Linked DNA regions of Homo sapiens: region 2 is linked to region 1. The links are contacts of gene promoters, found by promoter capture Hi-C in blood cells and fetal thymus (Javierre and others, 2016). All regions are on one chromosome and are shown on one strand. The core of a region is centred on a gene start or on the middle of the fragment in contact, and the rest is flanking DNA. Distances in the headings are between cores, read along the strand shown. Region 1 holds the start of RAB3GAP2 (RAB3 GTPase activating non-catalytic protein subunit 2). Region 2 has its middle 3.0 kb from the start of RPS6KC1.

What was found. Contacts are between HindIII fragments. The CHiCAGO score rates a contact against its expected background, and 5 or more counts as called.
Region 2: a contact is called between a fragment that was not itself captured here and the fragment with the promoter of RAB3GAP2 in region 1, in 1 of 17 cell types (non-activated CD4 T cells). The highest score is 10.0, in non-activated CD4 T cells.

What each region holds. Positions count from the first base shown.
Region 1 is chr1:220,268,796-220,273,862 of GRCh38, reverse strand. It overlaps RAB3GAP2 (RAB3 GTPase activating non-catalytic protein subunit 2), which reads left to right and starts at 1,410. Exons shown (of 35, transcript NM_012414.4): 1 at 1,410-1,640. The coding sequence starts at 1,526. RefSeq lists an enhancer at 2,815-3,316. The HindIII fragment of the contact is 3,718 bases long and covers 1-3,575 here.
Region 2 is chr1:213,045,730-213,050,852 of GRCh38, reverse strand. No RefSeq gene overlaps it. Among named protein-coding and RNA genes, the nearest start is that of RPS6KC1, 3.0 kb to the left of the region's middle. RefSeq lists a cis regulatory region at 4,688-5,123. The HindIII fragment of the contact is 3,639 bases long and covers 1-3,263 here.

The sequences.
Region 1 (5,067 bases), core at 161-2,660:
TCTAGAAGTAGGAAATAATGGAGTAGGAACCTGGGCACTAAATTATAGTTGTTATATTATTAGGACTAAGTGTGTATGTCCACGGGCCTGACAGAAATGAATGCTCTGGACCCCATCCACTTGCCTTTCATTTGTTCCTGTGCCCTTTTTTCATACAAAGTGGATGGCCTCTTTAGGTTTCCTTTAGGAAATGTGTAAGTGCCTACAGGCCTTTGTGCTCACATTAAAATAATTTTTTTTGTTTTTATTTTTTGGAAAAATAACTTAAAGTCTGCTCAGAGACAGCTCAATTTCTTTATTTTAAAAATGGGATAAGACACACTATTTTTAGATGGCATTTGTGACTATCCAAATGAACAATGTAAAGTACTTTCAAAAATAGTGCTTTGTCAAAGAAACAAGTTATTCTATTTACTTTATGTATGCATTCCATTTATTTCTTCAGCAAATATTTATGAAGCACTTACTAGCATGATCACAATTTCAGTTAAATAGTTAAGTACAGTAGTCCCCCCTTTATCCATGGGTTCATTTTCCACATAATTATTCAATTTAATTATTAGTTATTGTTAATCTTTCACTGTGCCTAATTTATAAATTTAACTTTATCATATATATGTATAGGTAAAAACATAATACACATACATAGGTTTCAGTACTATCCATGGTTTGAGTCATCCACTGGGGATCTTAAAACATATCCCCTTGGATTAAAGGGAAATACTGTAATTAATTGCTTACTGCCTGTATCAGTCACTAGAATTCCAGCTTTCTGGGAAAAGGTACTTCTTCTCTTTTGTTCTCTAATGCTCAGCACCCTGCGTGGCTGGCATTTAAAAGACTAACAAATATTTGTTGAATGGATGGATGAATGCATGAATGAAAAACCAAATGAATAATGAAAACAAAAGTGTATAATACACTATAACACGTACTATATTGGGCTTGCGTAGTACTATGGGAATCTATAGTAGGAGCATTTAAAGCCAGCCTTGACGGGGCTAATCTCCGGAAGAGCAATTAATCTTTTCAAAATCCGACTCTTGCAGGATACGGTCCCCCACTGGCCTGCCACTAGTTTAAAACGAATTAGTTTCTGTGAAACATCAGGATCGTGCCAATAGTAGGGGACCAATAAGACTGAATAAGTCAAAGGGCTGCGCGGACAAGTCCAATTAGAACACCTCTGGCTAAAAGCCAGAATGAATGAAAGGGTTCATGCCTCGGCGTAGACACACAACTGGGACTGAAAAATCTGCCCCAAGCCTCCACGTCGACTTTGGCTCCACCTGCAGCGGCGGCGCCGTAGTCACGTGACCCGGGCCCCCGCGCCCTAGGCGCCTGGGCCAGCCTGCGCCTGCGCAGTACTCGGAGACAGCGGACCCGTGTCAGTGACAGCTTCCGGTTTGGTTTCTCCGCCTTCTGCTTGGCTAGAGCTATTGGGGCTCGGTGGCGGCCGCAGTGGGGTGGAGGGGGCAGGGCGTGGTGAGGTAAGGTGAGTGCCGTAGTGGGGTTCCCTGGAGCCATGGCCTGCTCCATTGTCCAGTTCTGCTACTTCCAGGACCTCCAGGCCGCCCGGGACTTCCTCTTTCCTCACCTGCGGGAGGAGATCCTCAGCGGCGCCTTGCGGAGGGACCCCAGTAAGTGCCTCTCTGGCCTCGCCCTTCCTTCCCTCGTCACCCGCGGCCTCTGCTCACGGGTTCGAGTCTCCTACTCGCTCTGCGCCTCCTGCCTCTGCCCTCTGGACCCCCAGTTCTCCCCGTGCCTCCCCTCCGCTCCGGGATGACACCCTGCCCACCTCGTCCTGAAGCCCCATTTGTGTTGTCTTCCTCTCGACCCAGCTTTTCTCCTTAGGCCCTCTGACCCCTGGCTAAAAACTGCGTCTTGTTTCCTCTCGCCTCTGCCTATCACCGCTTTCTCCCTCCCTCCCCCCACCCCCACACATTCCTAGCTTTCTCTCTGAGTATCTTCTCCGTCTCCCATCTTCAGCCTGGGGTCGTTCCCTGTTTCATGTTGCCTGCTCCGTGATCGCATCCTCCCCGTTCCTTGCCACATGTCAGCGCTCCACTCTGGTATTGCCCCAGCTCCCACTCTCTTCCATCCCGGAGACTGTGGCCTTCTGCTACCTCCCATTCCGAAAGTGTTGATCATCCCCCCACACTCTCCCTTCTTTCATCTGCATTTCCCCCATTCAGATTTTGAGAACAAATGGCTGACAAATGAGTGACTCTTGAGGTAAGACTCTCTCAAAGAAGGAAAATAACCTGTCAGGAAGTGAACGAGAATCTACATTAGGAACTAAAATTACAGTGACATAGCCAAGAAAGGTTAATTTGCTTTATTGAAGCCTTCCACCTATTTTTATCATCAAAGTGTTTAATAAGCCTTTCCCCAAGTAGTATAAAGTTCCAAGGCTGGTTTATTAGATACTATATAGGCTTTCAGAATTTCGTACATTTCATTTTGAAAGGGTGTGCCTTGTGTTTTATTTTATTTTATTTTATTTTATTTTATTTTTGCATTTCCAACCTGAAGCACATTTGGCTTTGTAGTACAGCGCTCTCACTTTGTGCTATACCGGAATGGTGATATAAAGCCCACTAAGCTCCTCTCCCTTTTTTAGAAAATTTAGAAGATATCAAATCGAACCCATCTGTGAATGATTGCATACTTTGTGCCAGTCATTGGTGCTACAAACCAAATAAGGTTGGTGGACCCTGCTGTAGGAACTTCTGGTTTACAGACAAATCATTAACTTCCATTCAGTGTGACTGAGATATACATGAGGCATTTTCTTGAAGTGGTGATACTTAAGCCTACCTTTGAAGTACTAGTTAGAGGAGTAAAGGAGCAGTAATAGCATGTGCAGAGGAAGGGAGGCCTGAAATGGCATGGTATTTAGAGAACTAAGAAAAGCTGAATGGCTGGAGAGGAGGATGGGAGAGGAAGAGTTGGGGCAATGAGGCAGTAGTAGTAATAAGGAGCTAGACCATGAGAGGCCTTGTGAAAATTGTGGCGTTTCTCTGAAAGTTTAAGTAGAGAAATGACATTGTCAGATTTGTACTTAATGTAATCAACAACATTTGTTGAAGACCTGTAATGTGCTCTGGTAGCAAAGTGGAGGAGAGATTGGAAGAAGGGAAATGGATTGGGAAGCTCTTCCAGTAATCCAAGCAAGAAATTATGTGAGCTTGAATTAAGAACCTTAGTAGGATGAAGATGAAGGACTAGATTAGAAAGACGTTAAGGAGTTAGAATCTGCAGGACCTTGTGAAGGTCTGGTGATGGGCATTGTAACTAGTAAGTGAGGGGGAGTTTAGGAAGTCTTTGGCTTGTGGTTTGGGCAACTATATGTAATAAGAGAATGAAGGATACAGATTTTCAACCTTTTGCATTTTAAATGTTTATGGTATGTCCAAGTAAGGACATCTGGTTGAACACCAGATATAGATAGTCTAAACAGTAGGGAGTACTGGGCCAGAGATGTTAATTGGGGAGCTAACAGCAAAAAGTGTCAGTTCAGTCTCAAGGATTATGTATGTTGTGAAATGCACTGAGTACTAAAGCTGTAAGCTTAGAGGAGCACTGGTGTTTAAAAGTCAAGTAGAGGTTACTGGGAAGAAGACTGAGAAGGAGTAAAAGAAAGAGGAAAATCATGTGAGAGTAAGGCCCTCGGAGCTGAGGAAGGCGAGAACTTGATGAGGGTGAGGAATGGTCAGCAGTTTTGCAAATGCAGCAGGGGTCAGGTAAGAAAAGGATAGAAAAATGCTTATTGGTTTTGAGAAGGTGGAGGTAACTTGGACCTTAGGACAGTTTCAGTAGGATAGTGGAGGCAGAAAGCATAGTTATAGGATAAGGGGTTAAAAAGTGAAATATACTATTTCAAGGAGCTTGGCTGTGAAGGATAGCAGATGCAGGATTGTAGATAGGGAATGTAGAAAAAAGGAACAGATTTTCTTTATCCTTCTACCACTCTCCTGGTCCAGGCCACCATCTTTTCTCAACCTGGGCTATGATATGATATGTGTCTTCTTCTAGCAATTCTTCCTGCTTTTGCTCTTGGTTTCCTGTAATAATTCTCAACAGTAGTTACAGTGAGCTTTTAAGGCATAATTTAGATCACAACATTGCCTTTTTTTTTGAGATGAAGTCTCACTCTGTTGCCCAAGCTGGAGTGCAGTGGCATGATCTCAGCTTACTACAACCTCCACCTCCTGGGTTCAAGTAATTCTTCTGCCTCAGCCTCCTGAGTAGCTGGGACTACAGGCATGCGCCACCATGCCCGGCTAATGTTTGTATTTTTAGTAGAGATGGGGTTTCACTATGTTGGCCAGGCTGGTCTTGAACTCCTGACCTTGCGATCCACCTGCCTTGGCCTCCCAAAGTGCTGGGATTACAGTCATGAGCCACCACACCCAGCCTAACATTGCCCTTTTAATAACACTCAATGGTTTTTGATTGCACTTAACGTAAAATCCAAAGTTCTTAAATGGTGTATAAGGCCCTTGAGACTCTGCTTCCTGCCATTTCTTGGACCTTATACACCTCTCCCCTTATTTCTTATGCTTCAGACGCTCTTTTTTGTTGTTAAACCAGCCAACCACATTTGTGGCTAAGGTTTTTGCCCTCACTGTTGTCTATGCCTTGGATGCTTTTTGCAGATCTTTGCATGCTAGTTGCATCTTGTCATTCAAGTCTCAGCTCAAATGTCAACTCAGGGCAGCCTTTTCTGACCACCTGATCTAGATCTAAAGTAGTCAATACAACCCCCTTGTTCCTACTTGTTGTTCTCAATCATATCATCCTGTTTATTTTCATCATTATATTTCTACTGTCCAGTATGGTAACCTCTAGGCACATGTGGTTATTGAGCCTGTGAAATGTGGCCAGTGCAACTGAGGAACTGAATTTTTAAAATTCAAGTTAATTTTAATTAATTTAAATTTAAGTAGCCAAAGTGGCTAATGCCTATAATATAGTATGGCACAGTTATAGGTGCTAAAACTCAGGTACATACAGATTGAATACTTGTCCAAGTTACATAGGCAGTTGGGGATATAAATACAC
Region 2 (5,123 bases), core at 195-2,694, 7.2 Mb after region 1:
TGAGACATATCCCTTACTTCTTTCTAAGACGAATTTCCTTCCATTGAGCGCCTTTCTGTAACACATCTGCACAGCAAGCCCCCAACCCAAAAAAGCTCCCAAGCCAATATCAATCTTTTAAAAATCCCCACAGGTTCGAAAATCTGGAGTCCGCCTCTGGCTAGAAGAAAGAAATATGTCACTCGACCTCTCCGAGTCACTCACTACAGTTTCCAATTTCAGCTGAGGTTGTTATCAACGCTTGGCAGTTCCTTTATCTTTTTGTGATCAAGGTTCCTTTTCATTCCACAAAATATTCATGCCAAGTCTTTGCCATTATCCTAAAGACTCTGTTCCTCTTCCTTTTGCCTCCCTACTCTCCGCACCACCACTCTTCTTTACAGGGAAAAAAGAAGAGGAAGAAGCAGCTATGGCCCTTAGTACCAATTCCTTTGTCTTCTCACATTTCCATGCCAGTCTGAAACGTACACATATCACTTGCTCATTTTTACAGCTAATGACTCCACATGTGATCTGAATCCCATCCTCTTTGGCAAACCTTAAGACACTGTTTCAATGACATTCCAAATCTCCTTTCTGTATGTTTAATCTCTTTCTCACCACTGGCTCCTTCTTTTCAACCTACATATATCTAAGTCTATTAGTCATTCATTAAACCTGAATTCACCACCTACTATGTGCCAGACATGATGCCAATTTGGCATTGGAGTTACAAAGATAGTCCCTGTTCTCCGACCGGGCGCGGTGGCTCACGCCTGTAATCCCAACACTTTGGGAGGCCGAGGCGGGCGGATTACCTCAGGTCAGGAGTTCGAGACCAGCCTGGCCAACATGGTGAAACCCCGTCTCTACTAAAAATACAAAAAATTAGCCAGGCGTGGTGGCAGGCGCCTGCAATCCCAGCTACTTGGGAGGCTGAGGCAAAAGAGTCGTTTGAACCCGGGAGGTGGAGGTTTCGGTGAGCCAAGATCGCACCATTGCACTTCAGCCTGGGGGACAAGAGCAAGACTTCTCTCAAAAAAAAAAAAAAAAAAAAAAAGGTAGATAGTCCCTGTTCTCAAGTACCATCTAGTAGGAAAAATAAAGACACAAAATATACTGTGATAAGTACCATGGTGAATGTATATATGGAGTACTAAAGAGCACATCAATTCAGGATGGAAGATCGCCTAAGGCTTTCTGATAGAAGACTGAGTCTTGGAAGAGAGATGGGAGTTAGCCAGGAGAGAAGGGAGTAAAGGGCATTATTCATTTTGCCTTCTTTTCTTCCTTTCTTTCTCCTTCCACTCACCGTCAAAGTTGTTTAAGTTGATTTTAAAGTAATCTACATCAACATTGCATCATCACCCATTTATTCCCATGTCCAATTCAATCTGGTTTCACCTCTATATTGCTACTCTGAAACTGCTCTGAAAACAGTTTCCAGTGACCTCAATTTGCCCAATATTTCTGGATTTTGAAAGTCTCTGACCATTTCTACCTTTTTAAAACTTTTGTATATTCTTAGCATATGAGTCAGCATTATTTCTCTTTTCTCTTTTATACTCAGATGACTTGCTCTTTTTTCAGTCTCCTTTGCTGGTTTCTATTCCTTCCAAGAACTTTTAGTATTCTTGTTTCTCAAGATTTTGCCTTTGATCCTTTGTTCTTTATTCCCATTGACTTGCAAATGTCTATCTCCCAGCATATCTCTCTTCCAGGACTTGACTCACTTTACCTACATCTTTATTATATATCTAACACTGGAAACAGAACAAATCAAAATCTCAACATTTTTTCCCCTCATATACCTATTTCTATCTCCATGACTGGTTTTACTCTCCATTTAATTACATTAGTTAGCTATTTGATATCATCCTTAGCAACTTCCTCTCCATGTTCTCTGAGTTTCTTTGATTTACCAGATATTATTGATTAAAAATTTAAAAAGTGGAAAAACATGTGCCACGAAAACACTACTAGAAATACTTAAGACAAAGAAATATGATCAGGAATAAAGAAGGACAAAACTTAAAGAATTCAATTCATAAAGAAGACAGAGCAATTCTAAATGTGTATATACCTAATAACAAAACTAAAAATGTAAAAAGCAAAAACGATTAGAACTAAAAGAAGAAATAGACAAATCCACAATTATAGTTAAAATTTCAACACTCAGGCCTGGCATGGTGGCACATGCCTGTAATCCTAGCACTTTAGAAGGCTGAAGTGGGTAGATCACTTGAGGCCAGGAGTTCAAGACCAGCCTGGCCAACATGGCAAAACCTCATCTCTACTAAAAATACAAAAATTAGCCGGCGTGGTGGCACATTCCTGTAACCCCAGTCACTTGGGAGGCTGAAGCACAAGAATCACTTGAACCAGGGAGGTGGAGGTTGCAGTGAGCCAAGATCATGCAACTGCACTCTAGCGTGGGCAATAGAGCAAGAATCTGTCTCAAAAAAAACAAAAAAGATTTCAACGCTCCTCTCTCGGTAATTGACAAAACATGTAAACAAATAAATGAATAAGGATACAGAAAACCTGAAAAGCTCTATCAACCAACTCTACCTGATAGACATTTATAGAACACGCCACTCAATAGTAGCAGAAAATGTTTGTTTCAAGTGTACAGAAAACATTCAACAAGTCAGGCCATATCCTGGGCTATAAAATAAATGTTAACAGGCTGGGCGCAGTGGCTTATGCCTGTAATCTCAGCACTTTGGGAGGCCAAGGTGGGCAGATAGCCTGAGGTTGGGAGTTGGAGACCAGTCTGACCAATGTAGAAAAACCCTGTCTCTACTAAAAATACAAAATTAGCCAGGCATGGTGGCACATGCCTGTAATCCCAGCTACTCAGGAGGCTGAGGCAGGAGAATCACTTGAACCCGGGAGGCGGAGGTTGCAGTGGGCTGAGATCGCACCATTGCACTCCAGCCTGGGCAACAAGAGCGAAACTCCGTCTCAATAAATAAATAAATAAATGTTAACAAAATTTTTAAAACCAATATAAATTGGATTTGCTCTGTGACCTCAGGGAATTAAACTAGAAGTTAATAATAGAAAGTTACCCATAAAATTCATGAATATTTGGAAAGTAAATACAATTCTTAAAGATGCCTGGATCAAAAATAAGTGACAAAAACTTTTAAACATATTTGGAATTGAATGAAAATGGAAGCATATCATAATGTGTGGGACACAGCTAATGCAGTGCTTAGAGGGAAATGTATAACCTTGATGGCTTATAGTAGACAAGAAGAAGGGTCATGAACTAAGCTTCTACTTTAAGAAGCTAGAAAAAAAAATATTGAACCCTAGAGCAAGAATAAGGAATAAAACATAAAGAAAAGAGTAATAACTCAATGAAATTTTTTTAAAAAGAGAAAAACAATGAAATAGAAAAAGAGAAAAGCAATAAAGAAAAACCAATGAAACCAAAAACTGATTCTTTGTTAGGGGGAACTCCAAAAGTTCACTGCTCCACATAAACTATGAAAAAACTAACAAAAACTCTCAGTATTAACTCTTTCAGAACTCTGGAAACTAACCAAAAGCTTACAGCAACCCAGGAACACTTATTTAAGAAAATAGGCTGAATCTCAGCTGGGCGTGGTGGCTCATACCTGTAATCCCAACACTTGGGGAGGCGGAGGCGGGCGGATCACGAGGTCAGGAGTTTGAGACCAGCCTGGCCAACATGGTAAAACCTCGTCTCTACTAAATAGTCAAAAAATTAGCCGGGTGTGGTGGTGGGCACTTGTAGTCCCAGCTATTCGGGAGACTGAGGCAGGAGAATTGCTTGAACCTGGGAGGCGGAGGTTGCAGTGAATTGAGATCACGCCACTGCACTCCAGCCTGGGCGACAGAGCGAGACTCTGTCTCAAAAAAGAAAAAAAAAAGAAAGAAAGAAAATAGGCTGAATCTCTAAGAACAGCAAACTTTCTGGCATTTTAACTAACCCTAGGCCCATCCCCTGCTCCTCAACTCAGGGATATCCTTGAAAATAACAGCCAACATTCCTACAACTAGTTCTGAGGGAGAAGAGACCTCATTTTTATAGAATAGTAATTATTACTATAAATAAATAAATATCTGGTCTTATTTGTCTGGTGGCTTTCAGAAGACCAACTCAAAAGGCTTATCTTCACCTTGTCCCAACGCTAAAGCCATTAACCAGGGGACATTTTTCCACAAATATTTATAGGTAAATGTGTTTGTCTTTGCTCCCTGAAGTAATGGATAACAGCTGAGCAAACAATCGACTGCCCAAGAAGCTTGAGAGAAAAGGCTGGAGAATGAGAAGCTTTGGAAGAATAAGGGCCTTGAAAAGTTCCAATATATTCTTGAGAATCTAGAAGACCATGCACATGACCAGAGCTACGCAGATGCTCAGGAAAGACTTGAGAAGGCTTTAAGCTTTCACATCTAGCCAAACTTGAAGCTCTGTACAAGCAAGATGAGAAGACTAAGGCAGGGTTGTAAACTGCCTGGCTGAGTGTTGAAGATGTACACCTGCATAAAAACAGGGCCTCTGCAGGGTGCAGTGGCTTACACCTATAATCCCAGCACTTTGAGAGGCTGAGGCAGGTGGATCACTTGAGCCCAGGAGTTCAAGACCAGCCTGGGAAACATAGTGAGGCCCCATCTCTACAAGAAAATGCAAAAAAAAAAAAAAAAAAAAAAAAAAAAAATAGCAGGGCATAGTGGTGTTGGGAAAAGGGCTTGTGGAGTGCCTGTATAAACTGACCATAAAAATATGGACAATAGGTTGTGGAAAGCCACAAAAGGCCTCTGAGGAGGAAAACCTCCTAATTGCCATCAAGTTCCCATGCTCAGAGAGAGACCAGCTGTCTTATCTGTAAACACTGTGTTCAGGGAGAAAGACACTCCTTTAAAACACTGAAATGTAGACAGACATGCAGGCTCCTAGTTAAGCCGCTCCCACTAGCTACTCTCCGATAAGTTAAAGATATGCTGTTTGAGCATAAAGGAGATTCATTTAAACCGCTATTACTATAAATTACGCCTATGACGCACTGCAACCCTTTCACTGTTTCGCCTTGAACATGTGCTTCTTAGATCTAAGTGATTGTACTCAATAAATAGTGTGGAGACCAGAGCTCTGAACTGTTTGCAGC